Linked DNA regions of Homo sapiens: regions 2, 3, 4 and 5 are each linked to region 1. Evidence: promoter capture Hi-C in human tissues and cell types (Jung and others, 2019). All regions are on one chromosome and are shown on one strand. The core of a region is centred on a gene start or on the middle of the fragment in contact, and the rest is flanking DNA. Distances in the headings are between cores, read along the strand shown. Region 1 holds the start of HAPLN1 (hyaluronan and proteoglycan link protein 1). Region 2 has its middle 710 kb from the start of EDIL3. Region 3 has its middle 430 kb from the start of EDIL3. Region 4 has its middle 650 kb from the start of EDIL3. Region 5 has its middle 670 kb from the start of EDIL3.

Region 1 (2,742 bases), core at 185-2,684:
AGTGGAAGAGGTCATCAACAAAAGTATAAATTCATTTCTTAGCTGAAACAATTAAATTTTTTAAAATGGGTGGTATAAAAGTGACTAAAGACTAAAGCTAATATCTGAAGAGTCCTTTGGTATACATTATATTTTACTGAATGGAAGAGAAACTTTCATTTTTGTAGGTAAATGGAATTTGTTAACTGATATAAGAATTATGAATCATATCACATTAAAAATTCTCCAAAGATAACTACTATGATATACTTTTGATAGAACAATATTCCCATTCCATTAAAATACTGAAATGACTGAAATGTGTATAAAATCTCTGCAAATTTAGTACACAGAAATAATCACATAGAAATAGTTACCAGAAACTACAATTGTAATGAATAAATATTACATTCATTTAGAAATCAATCCACAGCCTTAATTTCTTAAGAACTATTAGCTTCCAAGAAGCCAGCCAGTATGTTTGATTTTATGACATCACACTGGAACATGTACAGGAACACTTTCCACCCTAAAAATTCCCAAATGTACTGGCCACTGTGTGTATTTTTCCAGTGATAAATGAAAATAAAGCAACTTATTCTCAAATTAATAAGCCATCTTATTTTGAACACAACAGTCACATTCAATGGAAGAAAACTACTTAATCGAAGCCCAAACAAGTTTAGGTTTGTTTTTGGTGGGGAACAGTCTCAACATACAAATAATTTCTTTAAGCAACTTTTAACAGTAATCTTAACTATGACTATAAATTCTCTTCAGTGCATTCAAATTATCCATCAACATCATTGTATATATGAAATGCATCATCATTCTATGATCTTAAGTTCATAATTAGCTGGAGAAGGAAGCCTGGGCCAAAAATGGCAACATTTCTAAGATTATTAATCTAACAGGTATTACCTATGCCTAAAGTAACTTTCTTTTTCACATAACCCTATATATTCTCTGAAACAAAATTCATAAGCCTGGCTGGACATTCCCATTCCTCACCTTTCCCTTCAGCCTATACTATCCTTGTTTCATCTCAGGTGCTATAAAAATGGTTGTTGAGATACAGATAGAAAAGTCACCACTTGGAAACCATGACCCTACCAGATTTACAGGAGCACTAGCAGAAGCTAAGATACTAGAGTTAATTCTTTCTCCATTTTTAGACTGAGCCTGTTTATTGTAGTGAAATATTTTATCCGACAATATGAAACTTTTTTAAAAGTTGAGGTGTCATATTAAATTCAAATGAAAACTAAACTCAAAAGAAAAGAATAAAATTTGTTTAATGTATATATACATTGCATGTGTATTGCCCTCTGAAATCTTAAAGGCACAAAGGTATAACCAAAAGAGGGGGAAACAATTTGCAAGTTTTACCTTGTCCTGAAATCCAGGAGTTCGGATGCTCTCAAGTTCTGCTTAAGTTGGAAGCTGGAGATCAAGTGAAGCTAGCGCTCTTTCTCCTCACCTTAAGTTTGTCTCTGGGCGAGTGTGAGAGTGTGTGTGTGTGTGCGTGTGTGAGTGTGTGTGCAGAATGTCTCTTTGTGGCGCTGGATGGCAGAGGTCCTGATCCTGGGAAGAAGGAGGCACTTTCTCACCAAGAGCAGAAGAAAAGCAAAGCGTCACCAGGAAAGTTCTCCTCCCAAATCCCCTAATTACAGCCTAATGTGCACTTCATGCAAACTTCAGGGAGGAAGGGAGGGGCAGCTCTGTGCCCAGACCTTGTAAAGCAGCAGCCTCTTAGATGACTTTCCCCTCTGCTCAGATCCCGAGTATCCCGCTCTGGGGTTTAGGAAAGCCGGCCGCTACAGCCACACAAGCCCCCACCACACCACACCTCCCGAACCCGAACCCTCATCAGTCCTGGGTCTGTCCAGAAGGGATGGGACAAGGGGTCTGTGGAATGATCTGCGGGGCAGCGGTGTGAGCAGACTCCTCAGGACAGTCAGTTTGCGCTTTGTTTTATTAGCCTCTGCTTAAAAGAAAAATCCAAGGGTCGGAGAGGTCCTCTCTTTCCCGCCTTCCCCTCACCAAAGGAGATCAAGGATAACAGACAATGATGATAGTGGCACATAAAGCTTCTTAAACTGGAGATGGCCTTCCACCCAAATCACCAGAAGCATATTTTCTGGTTTACTGGACTCAGTATTGGTGTTGAGTTTAAATTTCTCTTAACAAACAACTGCTATTGTATCCTTGGATGACAGAGCTCAAAGAACCTGGATTTATTTATAGAACGAGGAATGCGAGGGGGAGACGGGATGGGTGGGGTTGGGTTGTGGATCCATAACCAGGATTAGAACCAGATGGGCACAGGGCGCGCGCGCGCACACACACACACACACACACACACACACACACACACAGACACACACACCCCTGAAATAACCAGTGGGGAAGATGCTGGGACACGCGGGAAAACGCCTCCTGAACAAATAGACGTTTATTTATAACTTCTGGGAGAGTATATAGGTCCATTGATTCCCGCCTTGAGTAACCAAGGGTTTTGGAGAGGAAATGGCTTCATATTTCAATAACAGAGCCACCTTTGATGGAGTCTAGGAAGGGGAAAAAAGAAACACACCGCAGGAAGCAAACGGCTGTTGGAGCAGCCGGGAGGAGGGAGCGGGGCTGGCCCTGGGACTGAGGACAAGCAAACAAGCTCGAGGGGCCCGCGGCCAGGGTGGAGGCGAGACGCAGGCCGTCCCCGAGTTGCAGCGAGCAGGGCCCGGTGTCGCGGAGCGCTGGGGA
Region 2 (2,992 bases), core at 349-2,848, 1.4 Mb after region 1:
TTAGATCTGAACCCAGGTCATTCCACCACACTCTTAGTCAATTTGCTGTGTTATCTCCTCAATTCATTGACGGTTCCCAGAATCCTCAAATCTCTCTTTCTAGCTTTGATTGTAACTTCTTGATTATCTTGCTGTATGAACTTGAGCCTCCTTTTTTAGACCTGCTGTTTTGTGGATTTATTAGCATTATAATTTCTCTCATGTCTTTAGCTACTAATCCCCTATTCTCTTCACCTCTCAAAACTATCAAACTAACCAGAACAATTGGAATTTGGAAAGTTCAAGGATTCTTATCTAACCTAGAGGGCAATTCATTATTGGTAGTAGCATAGCAGAATTCTTTATAAAAATAGATGCTTGAAGAAATATATTACAAAGCTTTTCATATTTATTCCAGGAAGGAAGGGCAGACCCCTCATGAAGGAACACTTATTAGCACAGATCTATTTCACTCACAGTAAGTAGGGCTCAAATAACTAATAATTTTTGGTTAAGCTGCTTGCATATTTCTTTAATTTTTTTTTTCAAAATATTGAGAGAATAGAGCCTGTTTTTTTCTTCCCTTTTAGGATTATACAAACTTAACTACATGGAATGTGACAGAAAACTACATGCTGTTTCTTTATATTTCTTCATGAGGCCAATAAACCTCTCTGTATATCTAGTCTCTGAAAAGCCTTATTTATTAATAATTTCCTGAAGTCATGATAAAATCAAGACTACGATTAACCTCAGGTTATATAGCTATTGATGTTCTTTGATGTTTCTCTGGAAAATATTTTCATTTTTAGCATGAGGAAATATATTATTTACCTCTACTTTAGAGACTTCTTTACCATGTGCCATTGATAGATTTTTCTCCCTTCTGTATCCTTAAGCCTTTTTTATACAGAAGACCTTGTGCTATGATGGTCATCACATTATAAATACTTAAGAAAGAACAAGCAAATCAAATCAAACCTATACAAAAAAATTGGACAGATTGTGCCTATTTCCCTTTTTCTAGTGACATAGTAATTAACTCTCTTCATTTTTGGTGTACTTATTTATATTATAATGTTTACATATTAAAGACAATTTGGATAATAACAAAATATAAATAAAAAAACACCACTCAGTCACAAGCATGATTCATATTTCAGAATATCAGTTTCAAATTTTTCTAGGCATAGCCTAATTCAGTTTTAATCATATAATCCTGTGATGACATATAATCATAAATACATTTTAATCATAAAATTACAAATTACTTATCTGTCACTTTATAGCCTCAATGCACGTAAATAGTTCCACTATTTCAAATAACACTTTTAAGATAATTTCTTGTATTTGATATTATTTCCTTGGTCTTAGACTCAGAAGTAAAACTTTTAGAGCAAAAGAAATGTCTCTGAGCCAGTGTTTAGGGCATTTCATGGTTCTATTAAGACAAACTCCCTTATATTACAAATGGGACAATAACCAGGCCCTGTAAAACACGTTCCTTTTTCTGAGGCAATGTTGTGCAAAATATTATGTCTTTCTTAATTCCTTGGATGATGGTGAAGGTAAAAGCATTGCAGACAGAAAAAAAAATCACATTGCCAGAGTATATGTCAATTCCAGTAAGGATGTGTTGTGGTCCATAGAGGGTGAAAAGGATCTGATGAAATAAACAGTCATATATTTGATAGTAACACATTAAGAGCACAGAGTTGATTTCTGCTTTGAGAAAGTTAGATATTCAGCAGTGGTAGACGTGGAATAAGTGGTCAGGAGTAGAGGGCCCATAATATGGATACCCAAAAGAGCTTTCATACACTCCTCCAAAGCCATCTGTTCAGTGCTCATTTTGCCCTGACTGGAGTTCTTGAGAAGAGAGGCTGGGTGAAATCTACTTGGTTGTTGAGTATCTCCTGTGGCTAATTTCTGATGGGCATTAACACGACACCAAAAGATCTGCACAACCTGGTTTACTCCCATAGGTCTATGCACATTCAACTGCCCCAGACTACTTTGTCTCTGATCTTCCAGGATTGCTCCTTCCAGATGCCTAACCAACCAACAGTCATTCACAGCTGGTAAGGTATTTATGTGTCTGTTCTTCAGGCTGCTTTTCCCTTTAAATTGTACTCTTTGGAGGTCTGCCATTCCTCTCCTTTATCTCAGTGATTTAAGATCGCTTACAAGTTTATAGCTAATACCAACATATTACACTGGCAGCCTGTGATTCAAGCTTGAGGTTTTTCCCCCTCTGCCAGTTGCTCATAGGGAACTCCCCTTAACACCTAAGTATAAGCTGAGGGAGAGGCTGTGGTACAATAGAAGAAAGAGTCAAGGGAACGCCAAAAATTTTATTAATTAACTAATTAACTTGGCTCTGCCGTAGCCTATACTTGAGTGTATGTTTCCACTTTGGAGTGTTTAGCTGCTGTGCCCGCCTGGCCTTATGACTCAACGAATCTGATAATATGAAACTCATTATGAGCAGTTCTATATTCTTTGTTCAGGCCTTCAGTCACTCTAAGGGCTCTAGAATAAATTATTTTTGAAAGCTGAAAATGTTTTGTGTGTGTGTGTGTGTGTGTGTGTGTGTGTGGCATGATGATCAGAATTCCGGGAAACTAGGAAGAGAATTTCATGCAGACTACCAGATATTCCATACAGCATTATTATTTGCCACTTATTATTTTAGCTCCATCAGGTTTGCTGGATAATATGACCTAAGTTGTCAAGAAACTTGCACTATAGCTTGTAATTGCAGCTAAGCCCTCTTATAATCTTAGGTCCTAACTTGAAGTCTGCAGACTACTCTAATATTATATCAGAAATATATTTCCAGGTATGAAATATGGTGCCTCCAATCTGTATGGGTCTTACAGTGTGCTCTCTTTCTTAGTGGTAGGTGTTGAGAATTACAGAGGCCCACCAAACTCTCCACCTAATCCCAGTTCTTGGCATCCTACTTTTAAAAATGTCCAAGTCCTACGTATGACATAAATAACCTGACAAA
Region 3 (2,713 bases), core at 24-2,523, 1.1 Mb after region 1:
CTCTTTGTTTTTTCCTTATTCCAGGATCTGGGCTAAAGGAGCAGCTCCCAATGGAATAGGTTGTTCCTATGCAGAGCAGAAAGATCAAGAAGGCAGCAAAAGGATATAATGGCTCTTAAAGCTGCTATTGGAAAAGGGCACACTGTCACTTCTGCTCGCATTTCATTGGCTGTGGCAAGTCACTCATCCAAACCTTTTGTCAGTGGTGTGGGGTGACAAGGAAGGCACTGCTTGTCACATGGCAATATATGGAGGTGTATAGTCCTACAAAGAAGAGGGTGTCACTAATGGGGAACCAACATGCAATCTGTCATGGTAGACATCTGGAAAAAATACAAAATCAGTAATAATATATGAACAACAGCTAAATAACTGCCAGGAGAATCTGTCTGTGAAGTAGTAACATAATATTTGCATTGTGTTTTTTACTTTACACTGGGTTTTTACAGACATAATCACATTTGATTCTCACATCATCTTTAATATCCATTTTACAGGTGATAAAGTTGACATTAAAGATTACATAACTTGACCAAATGATAAAAATAAATAATCACTTTAACAGATTCTTATCCTCCAGCTGAATTTCTATCCTCATTCATTCACTTGAGCATTCATTTATTCATTCCTTTATTTAACTAACAGTATTTTAATATTTACTTGTGCTAGTGAGAGAACTTTTTGTGCTTTTTTAGAGCTCAAAATCATGTGGTGGTGGAGGCAGAAATGCACTCAAATAATTGCTAAAGAGTGAGATAAGTGCTACCAAAGGTAATGCAAAAGGCTAAAATAACACTTATGATGTGCCTGCGGGTGTTTGACATTTAGATTCAGCAGAGAGTTAGAGAAGAGTTTGAATCTGCCAGGTTGCTTTAGAGGGAAAGAGGAAGAGGTGAGGATGGAGAGGGAAGGGGAATAGTGAGGGAAATCATCACTTTATCATAATCTTCTGAAAATATACACAGGTTGGCAATTTGATTACTTGCTTTTAGGAACTGAAACTCTTTTTAGAGGTCACCTGTACAAATGTAAGCTGGGTAGTTTAACACATTAAGCTATTTGGTCACACATGTTCAAGTTATTTTACCCCATTAGCTGGTTGTTTACAAAGCAGAATCCTGGATAAATATGACATAGATTAGCTCATTCTGGAAGATGGAAAGGCTTCAAAGATGACCCAGGTGCAACATCTTTCCTGAGAAAGAAGCATGAGCTCTTGGACTTGGAGGTCAAAGCTAGGGAAAATGAAGATGCATAATGGAAGAAGGAGTAAAACCTAAATATATGTCTTTGCAGTTGTCTCTGAGAGGAACCATACTAACTTGAGATTGTGCAACAGTGAATCATACATCTCATTGTTGGCTGTGCTTTATTCCTTACTTTCAAGTGCTAGGTATAAAAGTCTTTGCTTAAGGAATCTTTAAGTAGAGGAACCAGGGAAAGTAGGCACGATAGCTAAAATGCACAGTGAAAGAGAACACTGAAGACTCTGAATGACTTAAGGAAGAAATAAAAAAAAAATGCAAAGTAGGAGTAGAAGCCGCAAAAGTGGGAAGGGCCAGGAACTCTGGTGACAGTAAAGGCATCAGAAAGACAGGCAGGCTCAATCACATTAGAGCTTCCAATGTGTAAAGATAAAGTTTTCATTAAAGTCACAGAAGCTTTTGATAGTGCAGAAGCCCAGAATAACCAAGTGCCACATCTGCTGCATAAGATCAATGCCATTTTTAAAGCAACAGGATAAACTGGACTGAGTTGAATCTCCTGCTGTGATTTTAACACTCCCTCTACTCAGTTCTTCCTAAGCAAAGCTTCAACGATTTTACAGGAGCTTTTAGTATGATAGTGTCTATAAAAGGCTATCTGGTTTGGGCTGCAATATAAACAAGCAAAATCATTTAGTTATTGCCTCATCTCAGATTTATGCTCGTTGATATACCAGGGATTTCCTCACTTTTTTTTTTCTGGAAATATTAAACTGTGAGATATTTGAATTTTGTTAACAAGTTAACAATATAAATATTATTCAAACTAAATGGCATTTGTTATCAGATAAAACTCTGTTCTTCCTAAACATGAACACACAATAAGCATGTTTGAATATTAATATGTAGTGATGTATAAATATATATGTGATATATAAATATGTAAAAAACATATAACAATAAGCAAATATGTTATTTCTGAGATTGAGAGATACATTAATAACTGTTTTGTTTTATTTTTATTTATGTATGTGTTTATTTATTTTTGAAATGGAATCTCTCTCTCCAGTCTGTCGCCCAGGCTGGAATGCAGTGGTGTGATCTCAGTTCACTGCAGCCTCCGCTGCCTCCTGGGTTCAAGCGATTCTCTGGCCTCAGGCTCCAGAGTAGCTGGGACTACAGGTGCATGCCATCACCGCCCACTGATTTTTGTATTTTTAGTAGAGATTGGGTTTCCCCATGCTGTCCAGGCAGGTCTCAAACTCTTGACCTCAAGTGATCCCGCCTGCCTCAGCCTCCCAAAATTCTGGGATTACAGATGTGACTTACCGCACCCGGCCTATAATTAGTTTTAAAGCTTCAATCTTTTGCTTCCCCTCCCCTCCCCTCCCCCTTCCCTCCCCTTCTCTCCTTTCATTTTTTGACAGTCTCACTCTGTCACCCAGGCTGGAGTGCAGTGGAGGGATCTTGGCTGACTGCAACCCCCATCTCTTGAGTTCAAACGATTC
Region 4 (2,828 bases), core at 257-2,756, 1.3 Mb after region 1:
GCTCGGGAGGACAGAGGATGACACTCAGACAAGATTCCCTTTCTCCAAAGTCAGGGCAATTTGTAACTACCACTGCTATGTTTGTGCTTAGACGGCTGTAAATGCAATAGGGAATGGGTGCAGTCTTAAACAATGCTTAGCAATCATAAGATAAATAAAAATTGACTGAGTTTCCCAGAACTCTGAAATCAGTGGAAACAGTACCCCAAAAGCTAAGTGAATTTCATTGCAGACCCACTTTGTGATTGCCAAAAATTTTTTTAAAAATACAGTTGGTATTATTAGAAAATAAGTCTCATTTCATAGTTTAAAATTAGGCATATTCAATGTCTGAAAAATCTGATAGAAATTTATACCTGTTTGCTCATGGAGAGAAATGCTGGTGCCTAAGTTTTTTTTTAATTCACATGTGCATTTCCTACTTAAAGTTGAGCTGAAAGACTTTTAATACAAATTCTTGATATCATTCTGGTTAAGACACTAAAAGCTTGGAAACAACTGTTCTATTTTCCTAAAAAAAGGAAATAATTTTTCGACTTCTTCATTCATCTATAGAGTTAAAATAAAAAGGTATTGGTAGGAAATTTAAAATGTACATATTTAGCTTTTTATTTTTCTTCCAAAAACTCTATCAAACTTATTAAAATTGTAAATAAAATAACAGCCAAAAACAAATTATAAACACATTGATCCCTTTCCATAGGCATTTATACACCAGCTGTTATTAATATTAATGGCTGTGTATTTATCATAAGCATGATCACTTTTTAAAATTTGACAGCAAATATGGGTATTAAAATGTCATGTTCTGTAACAATTCATTGTAAGCTTTTTATTTATTCCCTCTGAATTATGCCAAGATTCATTACAAAATCATTTGTTGAAATCCTGTAAGTCTGTTTTACCCCCACTCTCTTTCTTTTTCAGATGATCTCCTCTAGATGTGAGTGGTCAAGGGAATATTGACTCTATTCATTGACACTTAAATTGTGGCTTCTGGGTCAGTGCTCTGACTGAACCTGTCTTTCTTAATTATCATCTAGCAACCAGATGCCAAATGTATTTCCTGCTTCAGGCTGTATAGCTTTATTTCAGGGACCTCTGAGTCTTTTAAAAAAAATCATCAATTAAGATTGCTTTTGTCTAAATGGAAAAAACTCTCTCATATTACTTCTCTCTTTTAAAACAAAAAACAATTTCCATAAGCTCTTCAAGTAAGTTTAGTGAGTCCTGTATAAGAGAAAAAGTATTCTTTAGTTCTTTATTTTAGGGATGTCTCTTTAGATTTTTATAAATGTAGAGCCATTTAATGTAATATTAATATGTCATTCTGTGTTAGACTGAATATATACTGTTAGATAACTAGTTCTGCTGACTATGTGTAATTTAACTACACTACAAAATCTGTGGGATGCCAAAATAATGCAATTTTTAAAATTATAATTGGAATGTGTTATGTTCTCAGTTCTCAGAACAATGATTGTCATATGAACAGATTTATATAGTGCCATTTTCTGTTTCATTATAGTCTTTGCCATAAGAATGAGGTGGTAGAATTTTAATGTCTCATACATTCTGTCGATTACAGTCTTCTAATATACAGCTTTGACCTTTTCAATGTTCTATGATTTGATTGGCTACTCATTGCATTTTTCCCTTGCTTTCTGTCCCACTAACCTGTAGGGAGGATATAGAATGGACAGCCAATTGAAGTGTAGAATATTGAAAAGGTCAAAACACTACAATATGTTATCTCCACTCAGAATACATCACATACTAACCAGATTTTGTAGTTGCTCTACACGGACAAGGAGAAGAGTGGTTGCTGTGGGGGGAGTGAGCAATAAGATAATCACTCCACAGTTCAGTCGACAAATTGCAAAAGTCATGTTTTCCTGAATGTCTTAGTCATTTTCAAAATTAAAGTGAAAGCCCATTTCAAAAGTGAATACAAATTATACAGGTTGAGTATCATTTATCTGAAATGTTGGGGACTAGAAGCATTTTGGATTTTGTTATATTTTAGAATATTTGCATATACAAAATGAGATATGGGGATAAGGCCAAGTCTAAAGAAGAAATTCATTTATGTTTTTATGTACACCTTATATACATAGCCTGAAGGTAATTTTGTACAATATTTTAATTACTTTATGCATGAACATGGTTTTTGAACATTGAATCATCAGAAAACAAAGGTATCAGATGTAGAATTTTCTACCTGTGCCGTCATGTAGACATTCAAAATGTTTCAAATTTTGGAGAATACCAAACTTTGGATTTTCAGTTTAAAGGTGCTCAATCTGTATTTAGTTTTGAGAGTTAAATCAACCTCTTCAGAATCTGTTAAAGGATCTTTGCCTATATAGCTGAATAGATGCAAAGAAACCATCATTTCCGACACTCTTCATGCATTTTTGATAGTATATAACATTTTCTTTATTCTGGTATTTCATTGAAGTTGACTAGCTCTTGTGATTTTATCTTTTTTAAGAATGATATAAAAATAATACAGCAGCTATTACATATTTTAAAAAATTGATATTTCTTTTTAGAACTTCTTTACTATCAGAATTCTGAATTCTAAACTTTAAAAAGATAAATAATTACATATGATTGTGGTAAAAACTCTGATTGTTGATCTGTTATATCTTGGTGGCATTGGAACCCATGTGCCTTTTGCTACTCACTTATGATTTTGATTTTACTCACTCAATATCCCTAAGAGGTAAGTTGATTTTACATTAATAACTATGACCAAGACTTATGTACTCTCACATCAAAAACAAAACCAATATCAGCTTTAGAATCTGCATTCTCCAAATAAA
Region 5 (2,928 bases), core at 197-2,696, 1.3 Mb after region 1:
TCTGCTTTTGTAACTTTTTATCTATTTATACTTATTTTTAGGTAATTTCTATAGACCTATGTTTAAGCTTACATATTCATTTCTTCTCTGTGCTAAGTCTACTGATAAAGCCATCAAAAGCATCTTCATTTCTGTTGCTGTTTTATTTATCCCTTCATTTCCGTGTGATAATTCCTTGCGGTTTCAAAATAATATTCATTTTTACTCTATGTTTTATCTTAAAAGTCACTTTACACTACAGAATATATTTAATAAGTCCCCCACACTCCTCAAAAAAGACTGTAATGACAATTTGTGTCTCAATCCTCTGAACTGAAGTTTCTCATAGAAAATTGTTTCATGCTTACTGAGGATTCACCAAATAAACTTTGGTTTGATCATTATTTTTCATCTTTTTAGTGTTTAAATATTCTAGAATAACTCTGTCATTTTCAGTTTTTAAATAGTCATATCCCTACTTTTCAATAGAGGTAACAGTCTTGTGTAGATTCCCAAAAATAGATGAGGGAAAGAGCGCTGTGGAGGCACGTCCCTCACTCCAAGAAGGAGCTAAGCTCTACAACCACAGAAAGAGAGGAGTCACAACAAAGCTGATCTGGCATGTTCTCTAATTTTAGCATGTTTTTCATACTAATAATAGTTATTCTGAATTCCCTGACAATTCCAACATCTGTGTCCTATTTGTTTCTTGTTTTGATTGCTTTGTCTCTTACGACTGTGCTTTTTCATGACTTCTTACATCTTGTAATTTTTTATGTTAAAATTTAGTCATTTTGTATGAACAGTGGAAATTGAGGTAAACAGTTTTTATTTTTGGAAATAAACATGCCTTTGTTAGGCATTTAGTGCAGGGAGATGTTTGAGTTCATCTAATTAGGAATTAGTCTGGGTTGTAGATTCCGGATTGTAGATTTGTTGTTGCTATAATTAGCCTCAATGGACCACAGCCTTCAAATTCCTGTAGGACTATCTTTTGTTTAGGGTGGAGCTTAGTTTATTAGAATGATGACTGTTTTTAAGTTTTAGATCTACTCTGCACTGTGCCACAAAGTGGGTCTTTTTGATTGTTCTTGTTCCGTCTGCTCCCTACCAGCAGTTTTCTCCTTTTACTGGTTATCCAAATCATGTTATCTTGGCAGTTGAGGGTGGAGTGTGGTGCTTTCTTTGGTGTTATTATCAAGCCCAAATCTAAGGTATGCATGTGTCTCTGGGTTTCAGAAATGTGGCCGTTTTGTTCTCCAGCTACACTTTTCAGCTCAACGCATAATTTCATCCCACTCCAGGAATAAGCTTTATTTATTTTCCTTTCCTCGGCTGCATGAGTTTTCACAAATGGCCTAGGGGGTACAGTATTTACAGCATTTCATCCACAGTTTAAGGCTTTTGTTCAGTAGTATAGATAGGAAAGAAGAATCTGGCAGATTTTGTTACCTCTTCTATAAAACTTTTCTATTCTTCTTTCTTAGGCTTGCATCACAATGCGTATTTCTTAAGGTTCTATCTTTTCTGTGAGTGTGCAGGAAGAACCTGGAAGATGATATGGACTCCCATAGTTTGAGACTCACTAAAATTTCAAAATGTTCTTCTGGCTCACACTTGGTCTTGGGCAATTTATCAATTATTCAACTGAGCCGTTCTTACCTCTGTGTAGGTGAATCTAGCCAAAGGCCACAAGTTTGTACATCCCCACTCTGCCTGTCAGTACTATGTTTCCTTAATTTTTTGGTTAGTTGATTGTTCTAAAACTTCCACAATCCAATAAGTTTTAAGAAAATCATATTTCATTTTAAGGGTAGGGGTGATACTCCTTCCATATCTTTATACCCCAAGGCAAAAGCTGAAAATCCTGTGATAGAATTCTATAATAATATTATTAGGCTGCTCTGCCATACCTTATTTTCTATAAGTCACCTGACTAAAGTTAATTAATACTTATGGTTATTGACGTGACACAAGAGATGTTATTTGCATTTAATGATACAAACTGCATAAGACACTGAAGAGAACAACTCAAAATGTGACCTACATCAAATTCTTGCAAGTTTCCCAAATTCCGGAAACAAGAAAAATGTATTGCTACTTTGCTTGATGTTTTTTTTTTCAAGTACAATGAATGTGTGTATAAAATTAAATGCAAATCTGTAGTAGAGATTTACTATTAAGTTTTTTAAACATGCTGAACAATGCTGGCTGAAAAAATAAAGAAATAAAATGTCCTATTGAAATTGGATACTGCAATTCAACACTGGACAGCTTTAGTTCATATATTTCAATGACCATCAAGCTCATATACTGTTAGATTTAATTATCTCAAGTATATAACTCAGGAACCCTGGTATGTTATTCTAATAGCGCTATGAAGCTTCCAGTATTTGCAGCTGTGGCCAGAGCATGTTAATCAAACTAGTGTCTTATAAAATGAAAGTGATTATAAAATGTTAGTATAATTTATGTGGGGTAAGAAATGGAAGGGAATATATATTCAGAAAGCCCAGTTTTGAGATCTGACAATACAACAATTTTCTTTTCCTTCCAGCAGATAAGAGAATTATATTTACAGAGCTTATATTTTAAAAATAAATCTAATGCTTGCTTTTTCTTACTTGATCATGAAGTGTTCCCCTGGCTAAGGATGCCACTCAAAAACATATTCTATTTCTGTTTATAAGTACCACTGGGACAATGCTGATATTGTACTTGGTTTCTTTCCAGAAAAGAATATTCTTTCTTTCACTTTACATATTCATTTTACTCTAGCACAGCAATATTTTCAAGTTTTTAAAATGTAAAATTGATTTTGTGTTATTGAAAATTTTATTTTGAAAATATTGAAATAGCACCAGAATTCAAAAGAGGTAATTTGAATGTTTGCTGCCCTAATTTGTTGCAAAGATAGAATAAACTACGTAAGTGTAAAAAATCCTAGAT

Evidence for each region. Contacts are between HindIII fragments. The study calls those that stand out against the background at their distance.
Region 2: a contact is called between a fragment that was not itself captured here and the fragment with the promoter of HAPLN1 in region 1, in 1 of the 25 tissues and cell types used here (lymphoblastoid cells).
Region 3: a contact is called between a fragment that was not itself captured here and the fragment with the promoter of HAPLN1 in region 1, in 1 of the 25 tissues and cell types used here (dorsolateral prefrontal cortex).
Region 4: a fragment that was not itself captured here is called in contact with the fragment with the promoter of HAPLN1 in region 1 in 1 of the 25 tissues and cell types used here (mesenchymal stem cells).
Region 5: a contact is called between a fragment that was not itself captured here and the fragment with the promoter of HAPLN1 in region 1, in 1 of the 25 tissues and cell types used here (dorsolateral prefrontal cortex).

What each region holds. Positions count from the first base shown.
Region 1 is chr5:83,719,421-83,722,162 of GRCh38, forward strand. It overlaps HAPLN1 (hyaluronan and proteoglycan link protein 1), which reads right to left and starts at 1,435. Exons shown (of 5, transcript NM_001884.4): 1 at 1,369-1,435. The HindIII fragment of the contact is 27,926 bases long and covers 1-2,742 here.
Region 2 is chr5:85,094,472-85,097,463 of GRCh38, forward strand. No RefSeq gene overlaps it. Among named protein-coding and RNA genes, the nearest start is that of EDIL3, 710 kb to the left of the region's middle. The HindIII fragment of the contact is 4,884 bases long and covers 1-2,992 here.
Region 3 is chr5:84,815,604-84,818,316 of GRCh38, forward strand. No RefSeq gene overlaps it. Among named protein-coding and RNA genes, the nearest start is that of EDIL3, 430 kb to the left of the region's middle. The HindIII fragment of the contact is 3,314 bases long and covers 1-2,713 here.
Region 4 is chr5:85,029,505-85,032,332 of GRCh38, forward strand. No RefSeq gene overlaps it. Among named protein-coding and RNA genes, the nearest start is that of EDIL3, 650 kb to the left of the region's middle. The HindIII fragment of the contact is 4,337 bases long and covers 1-2,828 here.
Region 5 is chr5:85,052,306-85,055,233 of GRCh38, forward strand. No RefSeq gene overlaps it. Among named protein-coding and RNA genes, the nearest start is that of EDIL3, 670 kb to the left of the region's middle. The HindIII fragment of the contact is 3,308 bases long and covers 1-2,928 here.